Linked DNA regions of Homo sapiens: all the other regions are linked to region 2. Evidence: promoter capture Hi-C in 16 types of primary human blood cells and fetal thymus (Javierre and others, 2016). All regions are on one chromosome and are shown on one strand. The core of a region is centred on a gene start or on the middle of the fragment in contact, and the rest is flanking DNA. Distances in the headings are between cores, read along the strand shown.

What was found. Contacts are between HindIII fragments. The CHiCAGO score rates a contact against its expected background, and 5 or more counts as called.
Region 1: a contact is called between a fragment that was not itself captured here and the fragment with the promoter of APOA1 in region 2, in 13 of 17 cell types (total B cells, naive B cells, total CD4 T cells and 10 more). The highest score is 14.1, in total B cells.
Region 3: a contact is called between the fragment with the promoter of BACE1 here and the fragment with the promoter of APOA1 in region 2, in 1 of 17 cell types (erythroblasts). The highest score is 5.5, in erythroblasts.
Region 4: a fragment that was not itself captured here is called in contact with the fragment with the promoter of APOA1 in region 2 in 8 of 17 cell types (total CD8 T cells, total B cells, naive CD4 T cells and 5 more); the score reaches 8.8 in total CD8 T cells.
Region 5: a fragment that was not itself captured here is called in contact with the fragment with the promoter of APOA1 in region 2 in 2 of 17 cell types (total CD4 T cells and activated CD4 T cells); the score reaches 5.2 in total CD4 T cells.
Region 6: the fragment with the promoter of TAGLN here is called in contact with the fragment with the promoter of APOA1 in region 2 in 6 of 17 cell types (total B cells, monocytes, M0 macrophages and 3 more); the score reaches 6.0 in total B cells.

Annotation. Positions count from the first base shown.
Region 1 is chr11:117,214,113-117,218,687 of GRCh38, forward strand. PCSK7 (proprotein convertase subtilisin/kexin type 7) reads right to left here. Exons shown (of 17, transcript NM_004716.4): 12 at 4,354-4,456. Among named protein-coding and RNA genes, the nearest start is that of PCSK7, 16 kb to the right of the region's middle. RefSeq lists an enhancer at 3,396-4,575. The HindIII fragment of the contact is 9,653 bases long and covers 1-4,575 here.
Region 2 is chr11:116,836,372-116,839,365 of GRCh38, forward strand. APOA1 (apolipoprotein A1) reads right to left here and starts at 1,251. Exons shown (of 4, transcript NM_000039.3): 1 at 1,234-1,251; 2 at 974-1,036; 3 at 630-786; 4 at 1-40. The coding sequence starts at 1,016. It also overlaps APOA1-AS. The HindIII fragment of the contact is 2,883 bases long and covers 851-2,994 here.
Region 3 is chr11:117,314,603-117,318,637 of GRCh38, forward strand. BACE1 (beta-secretase 1) reads right to left here and starts at 1,654. Exons shown (of 9, transcript NM_012104.6): 1 at 933-1,654. The coding sequence starts at 1,193. RefSeq lists enhancers at 1-42, 43-564 and silencers at 1,093-1,202, 1,293-1,382. The HindIII fragment of the contact is 5,304 bases long and covers 1-4,035 here.
Region 4 is chr11:117,271,418-117,275,799 of GRCh38, forward strand. All of the region lies in intron 6 of RNF214 (ring finger protein 214), which reads left to right. Among named protein-coding and RNA genes, the nearest start is that of RNF214, 41 kb to the left of the region's middle. The HindIII fragment of the contact is 2,565 bases long and covers 1,695-4,259 here.
Region 5 is chr11:117,176,030-117,180,344 of GRCh38, forward strand. It overlaps SIDT2 (SID1 transmembrane family member 2), which reads left to right and starts at 2,714. Exons shown (of 26, transcript NM_001040455.2): 1 at 2,714-3,417. The coding sequence starts at 3,235. It also overlaps a transcript of PAFAH1B2 not described here. RefSeq lists a silencer at 2,813-3,022 and an enhancer at 4,003-4,072. The HindIII fragment of the contact is 378 bases long and covers 2,191-2,568 here.
Region 6 is chr11:117,196,335-117,200,730 of GRCh38, forward strand. It overlaps TAGLN (transgelin), which reads left to right and starts at 3,036. Exons shown (of 5, transcript NM_003186.5): 1 at 3,036-3,098. It overlaps LOC100652768 (a long non-coding RNA gene), which reads right to left. Exons shown (of 8, transcript NR_045215.1): 2 at 3,517-3,578; 3 at 2,403-2,454; 4 at 1,985-2,102; 5 at 1,452-1,573; 6 at 896-1,070; 7 at 674-812. It overlaps SIDT2 (SID1 transmembrane family member 2), which reads left to right. Exons shown (of 26, transcript NM_001040455.2): 26 at 1-1,108. RefSeq lists enhancers at 1-260, 1,593-2,256 and a silencer at 1,659-1,953. The HindIII fragment of the contact is 9,715 bases long and covers 1-4,396 here.

The DNA.
Region 1 (4,575 bases), core at 1,269-3,768, 380 kb after region 2:
TGCCCAGCTGATTTTTTTGTATTTTTAGTAGAGACGGGGTTTCACCATGTTGGCCAGGATGGTCTCGATCTCCTGACCTCGTGATCTGCCCACCTCGGCCTCCCAAAGTGCTGTGATTACAGGCGTGAGCCACCGTGCCTGGACTATTTGCCCATAATCTTATGGAAGCTATGCTCTAGTTTCTATCCTTTCCACTGGTGAAGGATCAGAATAAGAGATTTAGGTCGAGGACTCATTTGTGGAGAGGTGGTAGCTAAGGTCATAAACATAGCTGTACTGTCAAGGAGGATGATGTAGAGTGAGGAAAAAGTCAGGAAACAAGCCTTAGAAGACACTCACAGTTCAGGAGTATGAAACAAGTACCTCAGGCAGAGAAGGCAGAGGAGGGCTATGGAGCCAAGAAGGCCGCCACAGAAGCTACAGGAGGAGAGACGTTGCAACAAAGACCTCATTAATAGGGTCAGAGTGACAAGAATGTTAAAAAGGATGAACTCTGAACCAGCCCCTGAACCGGTCAGGAAAGGGGCACTATGAGTAAGAAAGCAAGTCTTCTGTGGCAGAGGGAGTGTGTGACAAAGGGGAGAAATTGCTTCAGTTCATTCATTTGAAAAGTTGCCTGGTTGGAGGTAGCAGGGACTTGCATTTGAAGGCAGAAAGGAAGAATCAGCAGAGAGGGAAATGTTGGTTAAAGAGGGAAGACCTGGAGAGGAGAAGGAACAGGACTCACTGCGTAGGCAGAGGCTTAGCCAGTATCCTCAAGACTGCAAACGACAACAAAAGGAGAGGTGCAAGTGGGTGTTCAGGCACCTTCCAATCACAGACTCTCTGAGTGTGAATAACACACTCCTCCAGAGCCCCACTCTCCCTCCTACCCTCAGGTAGAGATTTCAGACCAGCGTCAGATCTAAAAACCCCAAGAGGCCCCAATCCCCTCTCCCTCATAACCTCCTGTCAGCGGGGAGAGAGAAAAATCAGTCTTGCTCTTTAGCAGCACTTCTCAATATGGTAGCCCTTAGCCACACATGGCTATCTAAATTAAAATGAAGTATAACAAAATTAAAATTTAGCTCCTTAGTCATACTAGCCTTATTATTATTATTTGAGATGGAGTCTTGCTCTGTCATCCAGGCTGGAGTGCAATGGCACAATCTTGGCTCACTGCAACTTCTGCCTCCCAGGTTCAAGCAATTTCCCTGCCTCAACCTCTTGAATAGCTGGGACTACAGGCACGTGCCACCATGCCTGGCTAATTTGTGTGTGTGTGTGTGTATATATATATATATATATATATATACTTTTTTTTTTTGAGATGGAGTCTCGCTCTGTTGTCTAGGCTGGAGTGCAGTGGCACGATCTTGGCTCACTGCAAGCTCCGCCTCCCTGGTTCACGCCATTCTCCTGCCTCAGCCTCCCGAGTAGCTGGGACTACAGGCACCCACCACCACGCCTGGCTAATTTTTTTGTATTTGTAGTAGAGATGGGGTTTCACCGTGTTAGCCAGGATGGTCTCGATCTCCTGACCTTGTGATCCACCCGCCTCAGCCTCCCAAAGTGCTGGGATTACAGGCGTGAGCCACCGTGCCCAGCCAATTTTTGTATCGTTTTTTTTTTTTTTTTTAGTAGAGTCGAGGTTTCACTCTGTTGGCCAGGCTGGTCTTGAACTCCTGACCTCAAGTGATCCGCCCCTGCCCTTGGCCTCCCAAAGTGCTGGGATTATAGGCTAGGTATGAGCTACCACGCCTAGCCTATTATTATTTTTGAGACAAGGTCTCGCTCTGTCACCCAGGATGGAGAGTGCAGTAGTGCAACCATGGCTTACTGCAGCCTTGGCATCCTGGGCTCAAGGAATCCTCCTGTCTCAGCCTCCCAGGAGGCATGCACCACCACACCTGGCTAATTTTATTTTTTGTAGAAATAGGGTCTCACTATGTTGTTCAGGCTGGTCTTGAACTCATGAGCGTAAACAATGCTCCTGCCTCAGCTTCCCAAAGGGATTACAGGTGTGAGCCACCATGCCCGGCCAACTGGTCATGTTTTAAATGTTCAATAGACTCAGATGACTAGTGACCACTGAACTGAGCAGCATGGACATGGAACAGTTCCATCATTGCAGAAAATTCTTTGGGACAATGCTACTCTAGAGTCTTAGAGGTATTTAGCCTCCTCTTCTATCTCAGGGATGTTCAGCTCCCTCTGCTTTATAAAAAGTTCACTTTCCAGCCCCCAGACACTGAATCAACCAGGTCCTGGTGGAAAACAACCATAACTTGGCTGTAGAAGGGGTTTCTTGACTTCCTGGGACTGAGCTGCTCAACTCTCAATTTTTTTTTTTTTTTTTTTTTTTGAGATGGAGTTTCCCTCTTCTTGCCCAGGCTGGAGTGCAATGGTGCGATCTCAGCTCACTGCAACCTCTGCCTCCCGGGTTCTCCTGCCTCAGCCTCCCAAGTAGCTGGGACTACAGGCATGAGCCACCACACCCAGCTAATTTTGTATTTTTAGTGGAGATGGGGTATCACCATGTTGGTCAGGTTGGTCTCAAACTCCTGACCTCAGGTTATCTGCCTCCCAAAGTTCCCAAAGTGCTGGGATTACAGGCATGAGCCAGGGCACCTGGCTCAACTCTCATTTTAACTGGACTTATTTCTTTCAACCTCCAAGCAAGCCCACAAACTTATTTGTTCTGTTTTTGTCTGCTCAGAGGAAAATGTGGTCATGTTGGAGGAGAAGGCAACTTCACTGGCTCTGAAAAGCCAATGAAAATAGTACTTTGCAAAAAGTTGTGAATAACTCTGCATGTCAAAATTACTCAAGGCAAAAAAACAAAAACAAAAATGAAACAAAACAAAAAATCCCCCAAGGAGCTGGGGGTAGGGAAAACTCTGGTAAAACTTTTGCTTGCTGCCCTTCCAACAGGTAAAGGGCTCCATTAGCCAAACTCCCTAAATCTTTCCCTCCCTTCTCTTAATCCTGCTTTCTCCACTAGGCCACCTCCCACTCTTCTCCACCCAGGCAATCTGTCCTTCTTTCTCTTACTTTTTAGTGACAAGCAAGCAGTTGCCAGATGCCTCAATGCCTAGGGTAGACATTCCGTGGCAACGTCCCCTGGTCAGCAGGAAGCAGAGGATGACGAAGCTGGGAAGACCATATTACTCTTTTAAGTCACTGCCCTCATTTGACAGATGCAACAGGAAATAGCCCTGGATAGAAGGTAAAGTTGAAGGCACACTATCTCTAAGACACGCAAGTGCAAAGCCAGGGGCTTCCAAATGAACTGCATTCCTGGAAATGTTTCTGAACTTCTCTGACTTGGCTGACGCTTTATGCCCTTTCCAAGATAACATTCCTTTTATGGGAAATGCAGTGACTGGCCCAGGGGTTTCATTCCACATTGAGGGAAATTGGGCAAGTGCTGGATGTGGTTAGGAGGAGAAAACTCAATTCTTCTCTGTGAAACCTTCACCTGAGGGAAGCCACCCCTCATCCTCCCTTCTGAGTAACCTTCTCTGGCCATTCCTTCTCCTGCCATGGCTCTCAATTGATCACTTTCTAGGAGGACAGAAAAAGTGAAGACAGTTTTGGTTTGGGCACTAAGCATAGCATACTTCCTTTGCAAAAAGTAGTAAATGACTCCAGGAAAAAGAATCCCCCAAGGAGCTGGGGGTAGGGAAAACGCTGGTAAATGTGCAGACAGGGCATCCTCTGCACAAGCATCCTGATCCAGCTGCACTCTCCTCTAGGGAGGGCGTCCGCCTCTTCGCTCAACATAAAACCAGGTCGCTGGCTTAGAGGATACAACCCCTTCAGACAATCCTGGTTCATGCTGGCCACCATGGAGGCGGAGGCAGAGGATGGGTCACTAAAGCCTAGGAGACTTCTACAAACCCTCTGTCCATCCCCAGCAGACCACATCTGACTCTCTCTATTAGGTAAGCCAGAGAATCAAAGGAAGAAATGCCTAACTCCTTTACTTCATCCAGACACCCGAGGACTGACCAGAGTTCTCTGGCAAGATCTTAGCATGGAAGTCACAGGAGCTTCTCTGAGCTCTCACCCCGGTCTCGCCTGACCTCCCCAAGCCCCAGTCCCATGCCTCCCACCCGCCCTCCTCCTCAGTTGCTCTGCTGCTCCTTTTCACTACTAGGAACCCAGGAGAAAGGTCTTGTTTAAGCAGCTGGGGGAGCCAACTCAGAAGCAGTAACATGTCCTAAAATGGTCAAAGAAAACTCCACAGGTTTGGCTGGAGCTCAGCTCCGAAAGGGGGTAGAATCTGGCAGGGAGGACGAGTTTAACTTCCTTGTCACCCGGCCCCAAACCTCAGGCCTAAGATTAACCCCCTTTGTGCTGATTACTTACCATTCCACAGGACCTCCAGGGAACGGGGGGACTGCGGAATCGCCTTGTTTTCTTTTAACACGGGACTGACGTAGGATGCTAAGTAAGGGACAGATGTCCAGATCTATGAAAGGAAAGGAGGGGATGGCAAATCAACAAACAAGAATGATCACACCCACATTCTCACAAACACACACGCCCTTGTCAATACGATCTTGAAGGTTTAGCTGTCTTTATTTTTCC
Region 2 (2,994 bases), core at 1-2,500:
GGTGGAGGTCACGCTGTCCCAGTTGTCAAGGAGCTTTAGGCTGGAGGGTGAGACAGAAGGGTTGAGGGCTGGCCTCCCAGCGCCCCAGCCTATCAGGGGTGAGCCCTGGGTGACACCTGTCCGCGGAGGTGCAGTGGCCTAGCATTTCCAGTACACTCTCAACCAACACCCCTGCCCCGCCAGGCCATGCCCCGTTGTGCAGCTGGACCGAGGCACAGAGAGGAGCTAAAAAGGAGACAGAGCTGGGACTAGTGCCCAGTTACGTTGGTCTCCAAAGTGGGCCCTTGAAGGACCTCGCTTCTATGCCTCCAGCGCATTCTCCTCTCCGAAGACAGCCCACAGTCTTGCTGGGCAGGAGCAGAGGAGGTGGTGAAGAAGGGAAAGGGGCTTGCTACACTTGCAGGCACAATGTGGCTCTGTGATCACGCATCGGGCAGCCCTGGTCTGTCCTTTGCAGGGGACATGGGCTGTGACCCTGCCTGGAGATCCCATTCCAGTTTCTCCATCCAGACCATCTGTGGGGCCCAGCTCATCAGATATTAGGTGAGGACTCGGCCAGTCTGGCTTCAACATCATCCCACAGGCCTCTGCCCCCTACCCCTGCCCTCAACCCCAGGCTGGGTCCTTACTTTAGCTGTTTTCCCAAGGCGGAGCCTTCAAACTGGGACACATAGTCTCTGCCGCTGTCTTTGAGCACATCCACGTACACAGTGGCCAGGTCCTTCACTCGATCCCAGGGGCTCTGGGGGGGTTCATCTTGCTGCCAGAAATGCCGAGCCTGGCTCCCTGAGGGTGGGAGGGGAGACCCAGATCAGGCCAGCTGTGGGCTGAGATCTGAGCCGAAAGGCCAAGCTTGGAGGTGGGGGAGAGGGGGCCAGTGAGAAACCTGCTGCCTCTGCCCAGGAGGGTGGGCCACGGGGATTTAGGGAGAAAGCCCCCCGATGGTTGGCTCCCTAGGTTAGGGGACACCTACCCGTCAGGAAGAGCACGGCCAAGGTCAGCACCGCAGCTTTCATCCTGAAGGGCCGTGGGGGACCTGGAGGAGAAGAAGGGCCTGGCTGAGTGGGGTGCCTTCAGCATGCAGAAGCCCCGTGCTCCCCCACTCATTGCAGCCAGGTGAGGAGAAGGGCACAGAGCGGGAGAAGACCTCAGGTACCCAGAGGCCCGGCCTGGGGCAAGGCCTGAACCTTGAGCTGGGGAGCCAGAGTGACCGGGGCAGGCAGCAGGACGCACCTCCTTCTCGCAGTCTCTAAGCAGCCAGCTCTTGCAGGGCCTATTTATGTCTGCAGCCAGGGTCTGGGCTGGGAGGCTGATAAGCCCAGCCCCGGCCCTGTTGCTGCTCACTGGTCCTGGCAATGTGGAACTTAAGAGTTCAAGGATCAGCTCTGTCCCTGGGGCTGGGCAAATAGAGTGGGCAAACAGCAAGCTGCGGGGGCTGCAGGGCAGGGGTCAAGGGTTCAGTGGGGGCGGGAGGGGAGTGTCTGCAGGCTTGCAGGTCTCCCGGGTGGGGTCGGGGTTCCCTGCACTCATCCCCTTCCCCTCCATGGGAGTGTGTGGGCAGTTGCCATTGTCCATTGTGTTGGCAGAGGAGGGGAGGGGAGGGACGCTGGGACTCCTCCACCAAGGAGACTGCCTCCCCCACCACCAGCATTCCAGGGAGACTACTTCACTCCCCTCCCCCTTCCCCCGCCCTGTCCTCCCACCAGTGCTCTTCTTTAGTCCCCAGCAGGTCCTCCAGGCCTCTCTCCAAGCCTCCCAAACTGGTAAACCTGGGGAGAGGGGAGAGCCCTCCGTGGCTCCCAGACTGAGGTTTCGGAGACCTCTTGCATTTCAAAACACTCCAGAGATCAATTCGGAGCTGCCAACTTTTAATTTTGTCATGTAAAGATATTGTCCGCCTCCAAAAAACCCTCACCATCTACAGTGACCATCACTTCAAAAAGGAAAGGCTTTAACAAAAAAGGGCATAATCTCAGAATTACATTACAGAATTGAAGCCCCTTAGATTGAAGACGTCTCCCTTTGCATTGTTCACACTTATATTTGATCACGCACAGGTGTGACTGGATCTCAGCCCTTGGGAAGCCCTGGTGTGGGGAGAAGACCTCTGGGCAAAGGAAGTGGCAGGAGACCTGCTTTCTCATTTCACTTGGCCTCCATCTTGCTGGAGGAAGATCGTGGGCAAGTTATATAATCTCTCTGAGCCTCGGTTTTCTATCTGCAAAATGGGGCAAGAATGGTCAGGGTTGTTGGAGGCCCCTGAGACAGCCTGTGAATGTAAAGTGCTGTGTGTCCGTTGGTGTTTGCAGCACCATCTTGTCAGGTTTCTCCTGGAAGGCCCAGACCTCCCCCAGCAGGTTACTGATAGGACCTGAGTCCTAGAGCCTGTGATGCAGGCTGAGAGGAACTGTGACATCACTCCAGCCTCTCCCCATGCCACCATCTCACAGATGAAGAGACTGAAGAGCACAGAGGGACTTTGCCCAGAGGCTGTCATCTCTCAGGGAGTTAGAAGAAAGGCTGGACCTAGAACCCAGTCTCTGGACTTGGGATGCAGGGCAGAAATGTACCCTGTACCATCACTCCAGGAAACTCCCTAACACTAGAAACCAGGCTGACATCTCTGTTTACCAGATCAGGGAGTGGTCGGCCTCATGCCTTTCACTTCAGAGAAGATTCTGGAGCCAGAAAACCTCAAATCTAAGGGTCAGGCAGGTTCAAATCCAGCTGCCTGACCCTGGATGAGTTATGATACATCACCTCCCCACACATCAGTTTCTGATTGAAGATAATGATAGAATATGCCATCGCCCTGAGTTATGGCAGGGGTTACTGTGTGGCAAGCAGAATAACGCTCCCCAAAGATGTCCACAGCCTCATCCCTGGAACCTGTGGCTTTGCTACCTTCCATGGCAAAAAAAGATTTTGCTAGTGTGATTAAGGACCTGGAGATGGGGTGGTTGGCCTGGATTCTCCAGGTGGGCCCATTGTCAT
Region 3 (4,035 bases), core at 404-2,903, 480 kb after region 2:
CTGCCCGGGCCCGGACTGCCCCACAGAGGCGGCAGATGCACACAGAGGTCAGCCACAGCACCCCACATGGAGGGCTGCTCACCCACAGAGGTGCAGAGGGTGCCACCTCCACCAGCCACCTTGAAGGTACCTTGGAGATTGTCAGGAAGGATGGGGAGGGCATAACAGTGTTTTCTCTGTAACTCCCCTCTCCCCCGCCATGGAAGGAGTCCCACTCTTAAAAGGGAGCTCTGGCTCCTTTCCTACCATTTGTTCTTTCACCAGGCTCAGTTCAGTTCCCCTCTGGCCTGGGGAGGTGTGGGGTGGGGGAGGGGCCGGAGTGTAGACCGCGAGAGGGAGAAGGGGAGGAGGAGGGGACGGCAGGAGCCTGTCCAGGGCTTCCGGGCGGAGTGCAGTCAGGGGGGCCTCGACAACCTCACTTTGCCGTACCAGTGGCAGCCCAGATGGTGGGAGCAAGGTGCTTATTCAACTGCTGCCAGGATTCCTTGGTCCTGGAGGTACTGGGAACAATGGTGGGAATCAGAGGAGGGGACAAGGTTGGGTGGCCAACCTCTAGAGTGGTGGGATTTGGGAGACTCGGACTGGGCCACTGTCAGAGGGGGCTGACACCTGTTATAGTGCCCCTGTGGCGGACCCTTCCTCCAGGTCAGGGTCCCCAGCTGATGTGTCTGTCTTGCCTCAAATCCTTCCAGACGGCGTATGTGTCAGATGAGGAGCAAGGGGAACTAGGCAGCCAGGGGAGACGAGGAGGGAATGGGGAGCTTGGGAACACTTCTGCCAACAACCACGTGACCCCCGGGGAATGGCTGGGGAGGGGTCCCTCCTGCTGTCCCCACCAGCCCATTTGAGCAGGGGCTAGCTTGAGGCATCCCCATCCTGTCTCCCCTCTGCTCATGCAGGCGGAGGGCTAAGGGCTGGCCTGACCACCTTACCGTCTGCGGGGGGCTGCCCACGGTCATCTCCACGTAGTAGCCCTGCCCCGACTTGCCCCTCAGGTTGTCCACCATCTCCACAAAGCTGCCCCTCCGGCCGGGCTCCTCGGGCTCTTCGTCGGTCTCCCGGGGCAGCCGCAGCCCCAGGGGGGCGCCCCCCAGGCCGCTGCGCAGGGGCAGCCGGATGCCGTGCTGGGTGCCGTGGGCAGGCAGCACTCCCGCGCCCATCCACAGCAGGAGCCAGGGCAGGGCTTGGGCCATGGTGGGCCCCGGCCTTCGGGCCCTCTGGGCTCGCACTGGCCCACGTCCGTCCCTGGCGCCTGCCCCCAAGTCTGGGTGGTGCTGGTGGCTTCTCAGGAGAGGGAGCTTGGGGGCATCAGGACGCCAGGGCCTGCAGGGCCCTGGGCCAGCCCCCGGGTCCGGGCTGTGGAGAGCGGTCAGGGGAGATCCGCAGAGCACGGGAGCAGGGGAGAGGCTGGGATCCGGAGCCCGCTACATCGGCACGGCGGCGGCCAGCCTGGGCAGCGGGCGCGGGCTCCCGGCGGGGCTGGGAGGGGCGGGCATGGCGGGCCGGTGGCGGCTTCCCTGGTCCCCCCGGCGGGCGGCGGCGCGGGCAGGGGCAAGGGCTCCGGGCTCCTGCGGCTGCGTTGGCTGCTCAGGCCACCATAATCCAGCTCGCGGCTCGCAGCTCCCGGGCGGGCTGGGGAGGCGGAAAGACTTGTGGCGGCGGCTGTCAAAGCCAAAAGGTTTTCGCTTTTCCCTGGGATCGCTGGGAAGTGTAGTCTTCCCATGGCAGGCAATCCGGCTTCCGGGGCTGGAGAGGGGTCTGGGATGCCCTCTGCCGAGGTGGAGTCCGCCCTGCAAGGCCCTGGCGGGAAGGGCCAGACGGATGGAGAGGGGCACACCTCCCGTCTGTCAGTCTTTCTTTCAGCATGGAAGGAGCACCCACTGTATGCCAGGCACACTGCCAGGCGCTGGAGATACAGAGAGAAATAAACGGTGATTCTACACGGGACAGTTAAGTGATTCCTGCCGCGGTGGGGTTTCACACTATACGATGTGGCATTAAGGAGTAGGGATTTGGAGGGACATCTAGGGGATCTGGGAAGACTCAGTGGGAGAAGGTGGTATTTAATTTGAGCGTTTAAAAATGGGTAGGATTTTCACGAGCAGAGATTGAGGGAGCAGGATGAAAGGGGAGGAAGAGTTTTTCCAGGCTGCAAACCAGCGGAGCAGGGTCCAAAAGGGGAAAGTGCAGTTGTCTTATTTTCTCCTGCGCCTGCGATCTGCGGGCAGGTAAGAGCCAGTGGGTCTTCTCCCATCTGAACCTGTTTGTGCCCTTGAGGCTCTACTTGAATCCTTATGGCTCCTCTGATTTTCTGCACCATCAGCCAGACTGAGGAGAAATGGCTGTTGATAGCTTTAAAGTGTTAACACTCCGAAAAGTATCTCTATATTAACTGGTAAGAGCTTAAAGCCTTGAACCAAAAGCGTTAGAGTTCTAATAGCTTAAAGGAGAAAAGCCGGTATGGTTTTAACAATATATTGTTTATCAAATGTGGAAAGCCATTGATAAAATTCAGCAGTTACTCTGATTTAATTTTTTTAAAAAATGAAAGGGAATCTTCATTTTTCTTTTGAAAAGGAGACTTGCTCTGTCACCCAGGCTGGAGTGCAGTGGCATGGTCTCAAGTCTGCAACCTCCGCCTCCCGGGTTCAAGCAGTTCTCATGCCTCAGCCTCTGAGTAGCTGGGATTACAAGCATGCGCCACCATACCCAGCTAATTTTTGTATTTTTAGTAGAGATGGGATTTCACCATGTTGGCCAGGCTGGTCTCGAACTCCTGGCCTCAAGTGATCCGCCCACGTCGGCCTCCCAAAATGCTGGGATTATAGGCATGGACCACTGTACCCAGCCAGGAAACTTTTTAAACAAGATAACGACAACAACAACAAATGTAGTAATAACAGGCTACGTTACTCCCATTAAAGGCAGGCTTTGGAAAGGAAAGATCATTATCTCTACTCTTTTTTTTTTTTTTTTTGAGAAGGCGTCTCGCTTTGTCGCCCAGGCTGGAGTGCAGTGGTGGGATCTCAGCTCACTGCAAGCTCTGCCTCCCGGGTTCAGGCTATTCTCCTGCCTCAGCCTCCCGAATAGCTGGGACTACAGGCGCCTGCAACCACGCCCCGCTAATTTTTTGTATTTTTAGTAGAGACGGGGTTTCACCGTGTTAGCCAAGATGGTCTCGATCTCCTGACCTCGTGATCCTCCCGCCTCGGCCTCCCAAAGTGCTGGGATTACAGGCGTGAGCCACCGCGCCCGGCCGATCATTATCTCTACTCTTATCCTACACGGTTCAGACCGGTCTGATTGACTCAAAAGACAAGAAAATGGAAAAAGTGTTATATATGTTGGAAAGCAAAGGAATCATTAGTTGCAGATTATATGATATGGATAGAAAACCCTAATCAATAAGATGATTAGACACAAGTTAAAAAAATCGAAATCAAAATAGAGAAATGTATCTATGGGAATTGTAGATATGATAGAGATGGCATTCGTATTAGAGGAAAATGGACGCATTATTCAAAAACTGTTGTTGGGACGTCTGGCAGCCCATTTGGAAGGAAAAAAAACCAAATCCAATTTCATTCCTCTGAAAATAAACTCCAGATAGATTAAAGAATTTAACATTAAAATAAAACTACAGGAAAAATAGAATATTTTCATGATCTTATATTGAAGAAGACCTCCCTAACAAACCCTAGAAGGTAAACAAACCCAAAAACTGGATGGATTTGATGACTTAAATATTTAAAACTTCTGTAGAATCAGAAGTATTCCAATACCACCAGTGTTCTAATTCTGGTTCAATTAGTAACTGGGAGAGCCCACTCTGGTTACTTACTTTTTGAGTCCTTTTTTTTTTTTTTGAAACAGTCTCACTTTATCACCCAGGCTGGAGTGCAGTGGCTTCATCTCAGCTCACTGCAACCTCCTCCTCCTGGGTTCAAGCGATTCTTGTGCCTCAGCCTCCTGAGTAGCTGGGATTACAAGCGCACACCACCATGCCTGGCTAATTTTTTTTTTTTTTGAGACGGA
Region 4 (4,382 bases), core at 1,727-4,226, 440 kb after region 2:
TGGAGCAATTGTAGGGCTGCTTTCATGTGTATTCCTTTCTCAATGATCATAGTCCTGTGCTGCCTATTGTCCAGTGTTTGAAAACATTGTTTCATATGTTTTGTCCAGTTGTTTAGTTCTTTAGGGCCACAGGATAAATCTGTCCCTGGTACTCCATTTCAGGCAGAAGCAGAGTCCTAAATTATCTTCTGGACAGGTTAAATTTGAAGTATTTGCAGGATATCCATGCTAGTATGTGTAGTAAACATTAGTGGAAAAGGAGCTAGAAATGAAGCTAATGGCCTGGATAGTGTACTAGGAGTTGATCAGTTCTCATTAATTCCTTGTGAAGGGTTGGAATGGTGATTAGAAAGGAGGTCGTGGTCACAAAATGACAGAACAAAGTTTGAGGTGTTTTTTTGTTGTTGTTGTATTTTGTTTTGAGACAGGGTCTCGCTGCATCATACAGGCTGTAGTGTGATGATAGCTCACTGTAGCCTCTACCTCCTGGGCTTAAGCAGTCCTCCCACCTCAGCCTCCCAAGTAGCTAGGACTGCAGGAGCACACCACCGTGCCCAGTTAATCTTTTTATTTTTCTTAGAGGCGAGGGTCTTGCCATGTTGCCCAGGCTAGTCTTGAACTCCTGGGCTCAAGTGATCCTCCTACTTTGGCCTTCCAAAGTGCTGGTAGCCAGGCATGGTGGTATATGCCTGTAGCTACTTGGGAGGCTGAGGCAGGAGAATCACTAGAGCCCATGAGTTTGAGGTTCCAGTGAGCTTACGATTGTGCCACTGTACTCCAGCCTGGGTAACACAGTGAAACCCTGTCTCTAAAAACAACCACCAACCACCACCTTGAGCCACCTTGCCTGGACCAAAGTTTGAGGTTTTCAGTGTAGACTTTCCGTGTGTTAATATGGTTTAAGGGGTGGCTTTGCTGCCAGAAAACCAAACACCGCATGTTCTTACTCATAAGTGGGAGTTGAACAGTGAGAACACATGGCCACAGAAAGGGGAACAACACACACCAGGGTCAGTTGGGGGGGTAGGGAGGAAGAGGAGGGAGAGCATTAGGACAAATAGCTAATGTATGCGGGGCTTAAAACCTAGATGACGGGTTGATAGGTGGAGCAAACCACCATGGCACATGTATACCTATGTAACAAACCTACATATTCTGCACTAGTATTCCGGAACTTAAAGTAAAATTAAAATTTTTTTTTTTTTTTTAAAAAGAAAGAAATGGCTTTCCTGGTAGGCAATTGTCAAGGAATGAAGTTTAGGAGGAGGAAGAACTCCAAGGTCTTAGTCTCATATGGATCATGAATATGGATATTGAGTTCACAAAGGTTGTTGTAAAGGGTAGAAAATAAGGAATATGACTAGATGCTAAAAATTATCCATGTGGGTAGAGATGAGATGGGAGTATAGTAGATTAGAGGTGCTGAAACATTTTAGTCTAAGGACCCTTTTAAACTCTTAGTAATTAACAAGGACCCCAAAGAGGTTTTGTTTATATGGATTTTATCTATCAGTATATACTGAACCAGAAATTAAAACTGAGAAAAAATTTAATATTTATGCATTAATTTATTTTAAAATAATAAACCTATGTGTTAAATAGCATATTTTCTATGAAAAATATTTTTCAGATAAAGATCAGTTTAGTTAGAATAATAATATTGTTTACATTTTGTAAATCTCTTTCATGGAAGAAGCTTACTTATCTGCTATATTTAATTGATTGCAATATATTGTTTTGGTTGAAATATATAAAGAAAATCTGATGATATGCAGATAAGTAGTTGGAAAGCAAAGAGTATTTTAATAGCTTTTAAAGATAATTGTGGATATTCATCTTTGATACTATGCCAAAACTTGGTGTGTTGGTGTCTTAAAGTTAAGTTGCATTGTGGGATCTGAAACCACATCAATAAACATTTTGCTTTTATTTTCAAATTTGTTTTATTATTATTATTATTATTTTAGTTTTATTCCTGGCAAGCTGTGAAGTTTTTTATACTAGTACATTAAAATCTATTTGTTTACCTTGAATTTTGAATGGATATTTTGTATGTTGTATGGGGAAGAGAAACCTTTTCTCTACCTTCTTATGTTCAGAGATTAGGGCCCGAAAATTAAACTGACAAAATGTTATACAACCAACAAGTTTATATGACCACTGTGCAGTAGTAGATCAGTTACATTGAAACAGCAGGGTTTGCAGCAGAGAAAGAGTTTAATGATTGCAGAGCATTGAGTGAGGACATGGGAGGAGACCCTCAAATCCATTTCCCCTGAGGAGTTATGGGCTGGTATTTTAAGTTTTAAGGGGATTGTGGAAGGTAAGGGGCGGGAAAATTGAGGTCGTTGATTGGTTGGGATACGGGGGATGAAATCATCAAGATGTGGAAACTGCATTCTTTGGTGAGTCAGCTCCTCTGGGATCCTTCAGACCAACTGGCGTCAGTGGGGTCCTTCAGACAGGCTGATGTCAATAATTTCACTGCTATGCAGGATCTGAAAGAATATCTTAAAGGGAAAACTTAATGTTTTATAATGTTCATGTTGTCTATAGAACACTTAAGGGGAACTTTAATCTCGTAGCAGGGTCTATGTGATTCTGAGGCAGCAGGCGCAAAACACTGGTGAAGTAGCTAGTCAGAGAGCAAGCTGACCTCATGATAAACACTGCATGTGCTGCAAGCCTCGTTTATTTTCGTTTCTCCCCCCTCTTCTTCCCCGATGAATTTCATACAGTTTATAGGGACAGTTTCAAAATAACAGATTAACAGGAGGGAAAAACAGTTTATTTACATGTGCAATGTGCATACACATGGAAGAACTCAGTGGTGGGTAACTCAAAGGAGTAGTTAGTTAGAATTTGGGGCCAATATGCTATCTTACTAGATGAAGGGGAGAGAGGAGAAAGCCCCTAGTACTGGGAAAACAAATGACTTCTTTTTTTTTTTTTTTTTTTTTTTGAGATGGAGACTTGCTCTTGTTGCCCAGGCTGGAGTGCAATGGCACAATCTTGGCTCACTGTAACCTCCGCCTCCTGGGTTCAAGAAGTTCTCCTGCCTCAGCCTCCTGAGTAGCTGGGATTACAGGTGCCCACTACCACACTCGGCTAATTTTTTTTTTGTATTTTTAGTAGAGACGAGGTTTCACCCTGTTGGGCCAGGCTAGTCTCGAACTCCTGACCTTAGGTTATCTGCCCACCTTGGCCTCCCAAAGTTCTGGGATTACAGGCGTGAGCGACCGTGCCCAGCCATGGCTCTTTTTTTTTTTTTTTTGAGACAGAGTTTTACTCTTGTTGCCCAGGCCAGAGTGCAATGGCACAATCTCAGCTCACTGCAACCTCCGCTTCCCGGGTTCAAGCAGTTCTTCTGCCTTAGCCTCCCAAGTAGAACACAGATGGGCGCCATGATGTCTGGCTAATTTTTGTAAATTTTTTTTTTTTGTAGAGACGGGGTTTTGCCATGTTGGCCAGGCTGGTCTTGAACTCCTGACCTCAAGTGATCCACCCACCTCAGCCTCCAGAAACAACTGAGATTACAGGTGTGAGCCACTGCACCTGGCCTAGTGGCACATTTTTCAAGATAGGCCATATGATAGGCTACAAAACAAGTCTTAATATTTTTTAAAATAGAAATAATATTAAGTGTTTTCTCAGACCCTAGCAGTATAAAACTAGAAATCAGTTTGAAGAGGAACTCTCAAACCTATAGAAATTAGAAATTAAACAACCTGTCCTGAATGATCTTTGAGTTAACAATGAAATCAAGATAGAAATTAAAATTTTTTAAAAATGATTGATAACGGTGACAGAAGTTATCAAAATCTCAGATACAGCAAAAGCAATACTAAGAGGGAAGTTTATAGTGCCAAATGCCTTCATCAAAAAGACAGGTCACAAATTGACAGTCTAATAATATCACACCTCAAGGAACTAAAAAAACAGGAAGAAACCAAACCCAAAGCTAGCAGAAGAAAAGAAATAACAAAGAACAGAACTAAACAAAATTGAAACCAAAAAATACAAAGGATCAATAAAATTAAAAGTTGTTTCTTTGAAACGATAAGCAAAAATAATAGACCATTAGGTAGATTAGCTGTGAGAGGATTCAAATAAACTTAGTCAAAAATGAAAATAGAGATACCATAACTGATACCACGGAAATAGAAAAGATCATCTGAGACTGCTGTGAACACATATATGTATACAAACCAGAAAACCTAGATGAACTGGATAAATTCCTGGAAACACACAACCCCCCAAGCTTGAACCAGGAAGAAATAGAAATCTTGAACAGACCAATAGCAAGTAGTTTGATTGAATCAGTAATTTAAAAAATCTCCCAACCAAGACATCCCAGGTCCAGATGGATTCACAGCCAAATT
Region 5 (4,315 bases), core at 1,130-3,629, 340 kb after region 2:
CTTTTGCCATCCTGAGGATTCTCTGATTCATATTCGCCTAGATGTGCTGGAAACAGTACTGGACCAAGGTGCAAACTTGAGTCTAGTGAGGTACTAATGGGCTGAAGTTTTTCTGAGCGTCACTTTCCTCATCTGTATAATGAGGGGTTGGCCAAGGAAACCCATAAGGTTATCTTCCAGCTGACTTTCTAATTGGTGAACCCTTTGGAAAAGGGGTGCAGCTTGCTTCTGGTCTTCATCCTCAAGTATGCTGTGCTTGGACAGGGGCCAAAACTAATTCCTCCACTCACCATTTGCCCAGCATAACTACAACAGTACCTGGCACATCGTGGATGCTTATTAAATATTTATTGCAGGAATGAGTAAATATAACTAACTGATCATAAGGTAAAATAGTCTTCATTGGAACAAGGCTCCAGATAGTTGGGCAGGGCTGGGAGCTGAGACTGCTGCAATCCTGCCAGCTGAGAGAACTCTGACAAGGCACTGATCTGGGTGGCTTTATTAGGATGTCTGACAGCTTCAGAGGTGGCCACATTTCTTTTCCTTTAAACATGTCTAATTTGGCCGGGCGCAGTGGCTCACGCCTGTAATCCCAACACTTTGGGAAGCCTAGGTGGGTGGATCACTCGAGGTCAGGAGTTCGAGATCAGCCTGACCAATATGGTGAAACCCCGCTTTACTAAAAATACAAGAAATTAGCAGGGTGTGGTGGCGGGTGCCTGTAGTCCCAGCTACTTGGGAGGCTGAGGCAGGAGCATCGCCTGAACTCAGGAGGCGGAGATTGCAGTGAGCTGAGATCACACCACTGTACTCCAGCATGGGTGACAGTGAGACTCCATCTCAAAAAAAAAAAAAAAAAAAAGTCTAATTTGTCTTATAAATGCAATATATGTGGCCAGGCATGGTGGCTCATGCCTATAATCCCAGCACTTTGGGAGACTGAGGTGGGTGGATCACCTGAGGTCAGGAGTTCGAGACCAGCCTGACCAATATGGTGAAACCCCGTCTCTACCAAAAATACAAAAATTAGCTGGGCGTGGTGGCACATGGCCTGTAATCCCAGCTACTCGGGAGACTGAGGCAGGAGAATTGCTTGAACCCAGGAGGCAGAGGTTGCAATGAGCTGAGATTGTGCCACTGCACTCCAACCTGGGCAACAGAGCGAGACCCTGTCTCCACCCCCCGGCAGATAAAAAAGCAATATATAAATATATATACATTGTAGAACATTTGTAAATCTTTTTAAATATAAAAAATAAAATTTAAGAACCACTCACAATCCATTATTTTTTATTTTTTGGTACTACTCTATATTTTTAGAATTAAAGGAAAATGATATACAATATGTGTTATTTTTAAAATTGTAATTCAAAGATAACTACTGCTAAATTTTATTTTTAAAATTTGCCCTGCTTTCTGGAGACATTGCTAAATGTTTAGTACAATTTTTTTCTATTTTTCTATGCATGTCTATATGCATTTGGAATATATACGGTTTTATTTACTTATTTATTTTTGAGACAGAGTCTTGCTCTGTTGCAGCCCAGGCTGGAGTGCAGGAGCATGATCTCAGCTCACTGCAACCTCCGCCTGGTAGAGTTAAGCGATTCTCCTGCTTCAGCCTCCCCAGTAGCTGGGATTACAGGCACGCGTCACCACGCCCCACTAATTTTGTATTTTTATAGTAGAGATGGGGTTCACCATGTTGGCCATGGCTGGTCTCGAACTCCTGACCTCAAGTGATCTACCTGTCTTGGCCTCCCAAAGTGTTGGGATTACACGTGTGAGCCACGGCACCTGGCTCTATATACTGTTTATTTAGTGTCATATCCTGAATTCTCTGCTTACGTGTCCTGTGAAGTCTTAAGCATCATTTTTGATGCCTTCATGATAGTGCATTTAACCAATCCCTCATTATGGATATCCAAGTCATTTCCTTTTTGCTTTATATTATAAATATCACAGTGATAAGCGTAGCTGCCCAGGTATTTTTATCTGTGCTTCCTATTTCCTTAGGATAGAGTCCAGAAGTGGAATTACTGGATCAAAGGGTATAAAGCTCTCTAAGTTTCTTGAAACAGTGCCAAAATATTTTGTAGAAAAGTTTTCACCAATTTACACTGAAGGTCAGTATCTTTCAATGAGTTTTGTAACTGTCTCTGAGAGAAGAGGGGAAACAGCCCGGCAAGCTTGGAAAGCTCGGAAGGCCGTCCCTGCAGTTGTGTGGCCCCTCTAGAGGGAGGTGGGAAAGGCATGGGGATTCCTCCTGCAGTGCTGCCTCCGTTTCCCCTCCGCCGGTAGGGCCACCGTCCTGTTTCCTAATCCTTCGAGTTTTTCATTTTTTAAGATCCCCGGAGAAAAAGTGGCCCAGGGTTGGACGATGTTAGTTGTAAAGGTGGTGGTGGGGGTGGGGGAATCCTTATGTTTGAGCAAATGTAAGAGTTGTTCAGCAAGAACCCAACACTTGGAGATTGTTAACAGAAACATCTGCCTATTCCAACGTGAGTTTCAGAGATGGTGAAAATCACGGGAGAGAGTTGGGTAGGAGTTGGAGAAGGCATTGCAAGCTTTCCCCTTCAGCTAGACAGCTGCAGCCCCTTTAAGGGCAAATGCGGGACCTGGTCCTTTAAATCTGTGTCAGTTTCCCCTGACGTCAGCGGGCGGGCCAGCAGCCCTGCTGTTTATCGCCCAGCGGCGCAGCTCACTTTTCAGTGTTCGTGCGTCGGGACGGCGCGTCCGCCCGCCCTTAAAGGGCCCGCACCTCGGAAAACTCGCAGCCCAGCACGGCGTCGGGTAGCTACCACCTATCACGCCCCTCACTCTGCGACTCGCCTTCCTCCGCGGCCAGCCCCCGCCGCCGGCTCTTCCTCCCTCCCCTTTCCCGGCGTCTCCAGGCTCCCGGCAACCAGCCGCCCTCCTTCTCACGGCCCTGGCCCGGGGCTCCAGGGTCTCAGGTCGTACTCAGCCCCTCGCGAGCTGGGACCCCTTCCCGTAGCCAGCATCCCCTCCCTCCCCGCCCCCTCCCGGCCGCCCCCTCCCCTGCGGGGACCCTGGGAGCCTCTTCGGGGCTCTTGGGAGGGGACATTTCCTAATCTCAGGCCGGGGTTAAAGTTCTGGTCCTGGTGAGATGCTGGAAGCTGCGGCCGCAGCCGCAACCCGTCCCGGAGGTGTCCTGTCTCCTGTCGCCGCCGCCGCCGCCACCACCGCTGCCACTGCCGCCCTGCCGGGGCCATGTTCGCTCTGGGCTTGCCCTTCTTGGTGCTCTTGGTGGCCTCGGTCGAGAGCCATCTGGGGGTTCTGGGGCCCAAGAACGTCTCGCAGAAAGACGCCGAGTTTGAGCGCACCTACGTGGACGAGGTCAACAGCGAGCTGGTCAACATCTACACCTTCAACCATACTGTGACCCGCAACAGGGTGAGGGCTGGGGGCTTAGGGGCCAGAGGCGAGTGGGGAAGCCGACGAGGGCTAGGCGATTCTGCCGCCCCGCTACCCTTTTGGGAGGCCCCAGGAACGAGCTGTCCTGCTAGGTTCCCAGTTCCCAGAACCACACTGGAGCCTCTTGACCAGTCCTCCTTCCTTTGCCACCAATGTTTCTCTGAAGCTCCAGCTGGGCAGTTTTTGAAGTTGGCTCATTCCCATCTTCTCTTCCGCCCCCATTCTTCCATCAGTTGTGGTCTGAGCACACATGGCTTGCTCTCTACCCTAAACCCCAGAATCTGACAGCTCTGTGGGGTCTCGGTGGGAGAGGAAACAGGCTTATTACTGGGCTTGCCCAGAAAACCTCAGGGGAATGAGACTGGCCCAGAACTGAAAAGCTCTGTGCAGGCAAGTTACATCTCAGACTCCCCAGGGAGATGAATGCAGGGCTTCCCAGCCCTCTTCCTGCCTGGGAGAGCCAGCTGGCCTTGTAAATTGAGGGTGACAGAGGTTTTATAAGGCCAACTGCAAGTTGGGTGGGAAGAGAAGGGGAATTTGTCCACTGTGAAAAATCCACTTCACCCTGACTTCTCTTTGGTTTCTTCACCAGCTGTGAGTCCCTGAGTTGAAATAGACACAGCTAGTGTGGGAAGTCTAGACCCCAGGCAGAGCTGAGATTGGGAGAATTCTTGCAACCTGGCTGTGTGGTCTCGTGCCCGGGTCTCTTGCTCTCTCTCCATGACTGCCGTTTACTGAGAAGCAATGGAGTTGAGAATGGGGAATCTGATTTTTTTTCAGAACGGGGAGTGGTTTGGTTTCTGTGGCAGGCCAGGATCTGCCCCCAGTGCCTGGTTCTCTGAAGTTTGATCTCTTTCTGCTTAGAGTCCTTTCTTCC
Region 6 (4,396 bases), core at 1,786-4,285, 360 kb after region 2:
TTCCATGGGCCCCTGTCCTTTGGCTCTCCATTTGTCCCTTTGCAAGAGGAAGGATGGAAGGGACACCCTCCCCATTTCATGCCTTGCATTTTGCCCGTCCTCCTCCCCACAATGCCCCAGCCTGGGACCTAAGGCCTCTTTTTCCTCCCATACTCCCACTCCAGGGCCTAGTCTGGGGCCTGAATCTCTGTCCTGTATCAGGGCCCCAGTTCTCTTTGGGCTGTCCCTGGCTGCCATCACTGCCCATTCCAGTCAGCCAGGATGGATGGGGGTATGAGATTTTGGGGGTTGGCCAGCTGGTGCCAGACTTTTGGTGCTAAGGCCTGCAAGGGGCCTGGGGCAGTGCGTATTCTCTTCCCTCTGACCTGTGCTCAGGGCTGGCTCTTTAGCAATGCGCTCAGCCCAATTTGAGAACCGCCTTCTGATTCAAGAGGCTGAATTCAGAGGTCACCTCTTCATCCCATCAGCTCCCAGACTGATGCCAGCACCAGGACTGGAGGGAGAAGCGCCTCACCCCTTCCCTTCCTTCTTTCCAGGCCCTTAGTCTTGCCAAACCCCAGCTGGTGGCCTTTCAGTGCCATTGACACTGCCCAAGAATGTCCAGGGGCAAAGGAGGGATGATACAGAGTTCAGCCCGTTCTGCCTCCACAGCTGTGGGCACCCCAGTGCCTACCTTAGAAAGGGGCTTCAGGAAGGGATGTGCTGTTTCCCTCTACGTGCCCAGTCCTAGCCTCGCTCTAGGACCCAGGGCTGGCTTCTAAGTTTCCGTCCAGTCTTCAGGCAAGTTCTGTGTTAGTCATGCACACACATACCTATGAAACCTTGGAGTTTACAAAGAATTGCCCCAGCTCTGGGCACCCTGGCCACCCTGGTCCTTGGATCCCCTTCGTCCCACCTGGTCCACCCCAGATGCTGAGGATGGGGGAGCTCAGGCGGGGCCTCTGCTTTGGGGATGGGAATGTGTTTTTCTCCCAAACTTGTTTTTATAGCTCTGCTTGAAGGGCTGGGAGATGAGGTGGGTCTGGATCTTTTCTCAGAGCGTCTCCATGCTATGGTTGCATTTCCGTTTTCTATGAATGAATTTGCATTCAATAAACAACCAGACTCAGTTCTTGGGGCCCTTGTTTGCACTCCCTCTGGGTGGAGCTGTTGAGGATGAGGGGAGAGGCGGAGGTCTTCCATTTCCCCATTCTTCAAGCCATGGCCCTACTGGGAACTGCAATTCCTTGATTCTCCCGTTTTTCCTGTCCCTCCAGCAACAGCATTAATTCAGTAAACATTTACCGGGGCACTGTGCTGGACAGAGGCCAGTTCCTGGAAAAGCCTTTCCCACGCCATCCCACTGCAGACATCCCTCCTTACCTCCCCAGGAACAGCAGTCTCTGCCCACCTGGCCCCGCCCACCAGACTGAGGCTCACTTCACCTCTGACCTGAGCGGCCCCCAGCTCACCAAGCCACAGGCCCAAGCAGTGCTCCCTGATGCGGCGTTTATAATCCGCTCAGCGTGCAGGCCGAGGCAGGAGGGTGATGAAAGCTGGGCAGGCTCCAAGAGGAGGGAGTTTTGATATGTCCCTGAAAGATTCATTTAGACTTCAGTCGGCTAAGGAGGACATGATTTGGGGGCCAAGGAATCTGTTGAATTCAGAACACAACCAGAGGTCTGCAGGGTCAGGGATGGAGGAGTGGGCTTTCCCCTCGCCAGGGCCCACTCCTCTTCCTGCTTTTCCTGCAGGCGCCACTGGGAGGTGCTATGGCTGTGCCTCCCCTGGGCTCTGGAGCATGTCCAGTTGCAGTGGGCAGAACTGCGGAGGCGGGCCCCTCCTCTGCCAGGCCTGGCAGCCCCCTCCTAGGGCCTTGTTTGGCTAGGGGTGGTGCCGGGTGTGGCAGTGTGTGTGTAGTGGAGAGTGTTAGGTCTTCCCTACCAGATGCCCTTGCAGGGGAGTGCCACAGCAGTCAGTCCAGGGATCCCACTGTTAGTCTCACCTTTTTTAACCTCTTATCTCTCCCCAAGATCCCTGAAGCCAGGTACGAGCAAGATGAGAGTGGGTTATCTCTGGAGTGACAGAGGCTGGTCTGTTTTCCAGGCTGGTAGGGACTGTTCCTAAAGGGAGGAAGGGATGATACCAGCCTCCTGAGCCTCCTTCTCCTGCGTTAGTGTCTCAGGCCCTGCCAGGCCTTATAGACCCTCTTATTGACACTGCCCACTGGATGGGGACCGGAGTTGGACTCAGCTTCTGCCGAACCCTCAAATCCCAGCCCCAACTAAAGCATATAACTCAAGACCTACCTGCACTGAAAGCTCTTCTCAACCTGAGCAGGGTGGTCCAATTGAAAGGGTGGGTCTGACCACCTCTCCTGCACCCATGCGGGTTGGCAGAGGTGTGCAGGATCTGCCACTTACCATTCACCATGTGGCCTTGAGGAAGACGCACTCGGGGCCTCAGTTTCCTCATCTATAAAATGGGGATGTAATTACACCCTCACACTGTAGCTGTGAGTATTCAATGAGAGCACTGCAAAGGGCCTGGTGTGGAGTAGGTCCTCAGGAAAGGTTGGATCCCATGTCCCATCAGAGCTAAAAGCCCCAGGAGGAGAGGGTGGCTGGTTTGTCCCCACAAACCCCTGGGATTCCCGGCTCCCCAGCCCCTTGCCCCTCTCTCCAGCCAGACTCTATTGAACTCCCCCTCTTCTCAAACTCGGGGCCAGAGAACAGTGAAGTAGGAGCAGCCGTAAGTCCGGGCAGGGTCCTGTCCATAAAAGGCTTTTCCCGGGCCGGCTCCCCGCCGGCAGCGTGCCCCGCCCCGGCCCGCTCCATCTCCAAAGCATGCAGAGAATGTCTCGGCAGCCCCGGTAGACTGCTCCAACTTGGTGTCTTTCCCCAAATATGGAGCCTGTGTGGAGTCACTGGGGGAGCCGGGGGTGGGGAGCGGAGCCGGCTTCCTCTAGCAGGGAGGGGGCCGAGGAGCGAGCCAGTGGGGGAGGCTGACATCACCACGGCGGCAGCCCTTTAAACCCCTCACCCAGCCAGCGCCCCATCCTGTCTGTCCGAACCCAGACACAAGTCTTCACTCCTTCCTGCGAGCCCTGAGGAAGCCTTGTGAGTGCATTGGCTGGGGCTTGGAGGGAAGTTGGGCTGGAGCTGGACAGGAGCAGTGGGTGCATTTCAGGCAGGCTCTCCTGAGGTCCCAGGCGCCAGCTCCAGCTCCCTGGCTAGGGAAACCCACCCTCTCAGTCAGCATGGGGGCCCAAGCTCCAGGCAGGGTGGGCTGGATCACTAGCGTCCTGGATCTCTCTCAGACTGGGCAGCCCCGGGCTCATTGAAATGCCCCGGATGACTTGGCTAGTGCAGAGGAATTGATGGAAACCACCGGGGTGAGAGGGAGGCTCCCCATCTCAGCCAGCCACATCCACAAGGTGTGTGTAAGGGTGCAGGCGCCGGCCGGTTAGGCCAAGGCTCTACTGTCTGTTGCCCCTCCAGGAGAACTTCCAAGGAGGTGAGGAGTGTGTGAACGCACCTGTGTTGGAGCACGGTGTCCCACTCTGGCGGGTCCCCAGGGCCTGAGCAGCAGCGATAGCCCTGTGACAATGTGAAGGGCCACAGAACTCTTGTATTCCAGTCAGGGGCAAAGAGTGGAGACGGAAGGCCTGTCCTTCTGACAAGCAGCCCCTTCCACTGTCTGACAGTGGGAGGTCACCCCCACTGTAGCAGAGGGGTGGGGGGCGGGTACTGCCAAGGAGGAGCTTTGGAGTGATAGGCGGGGCAGGCCTGGGACCCTTGGTCTTTCCCAAAGGGTGGTTCCCTTTCGAAGTTGCTATTCCAAAGGTAGCAGTGAGGATGGCACACATTTATGTAGCCAGGCCACTCCTGTTTGTCCGTGGAGTGGAGAGGAGCCACCCTCCTGCCCTCTCAGAGGTCCAGGTGTGCTCACTCCTATTTGGGAAGAGAGAAGGGGCACAGCAGCCCTGCAGGGGCCCCTGGCTCTGCTCGTGTTTCTGGGCTTCTGCTGGTAGGGGGTGCCACCTTCCCGTTTGACCCTGGACTTTCTTTCTCCACTGCCCACTTTCACCCACTGGGCAGCTCAGGGGAGGGGTCCTGGCAGGAGCCACAGGGCAGGAGGGTCCATGCCTGTCCATGCTGTCCTGGGAGTGTCTTGAGATGCCCCTGGGGGGGCCGCCCTGTAATCATCCTCCTCTCCCCCTCCCCACTGGCTCGAAGGCAGGACTCGGGAGGCTTCATCAGAGGACTCTAAAGGATTTCTGGGGATTCTCCACTTTTCGACCCTGACCCAGGAGGAGGAAGGGGAAGGATGGTGGTGCTGGGTGGGAGTGGGGATGGTGTGTGCTTCATCCCCCTCTGACCGAAATCCTAATCTTGTCTCTAGATCTGGGGGCTGC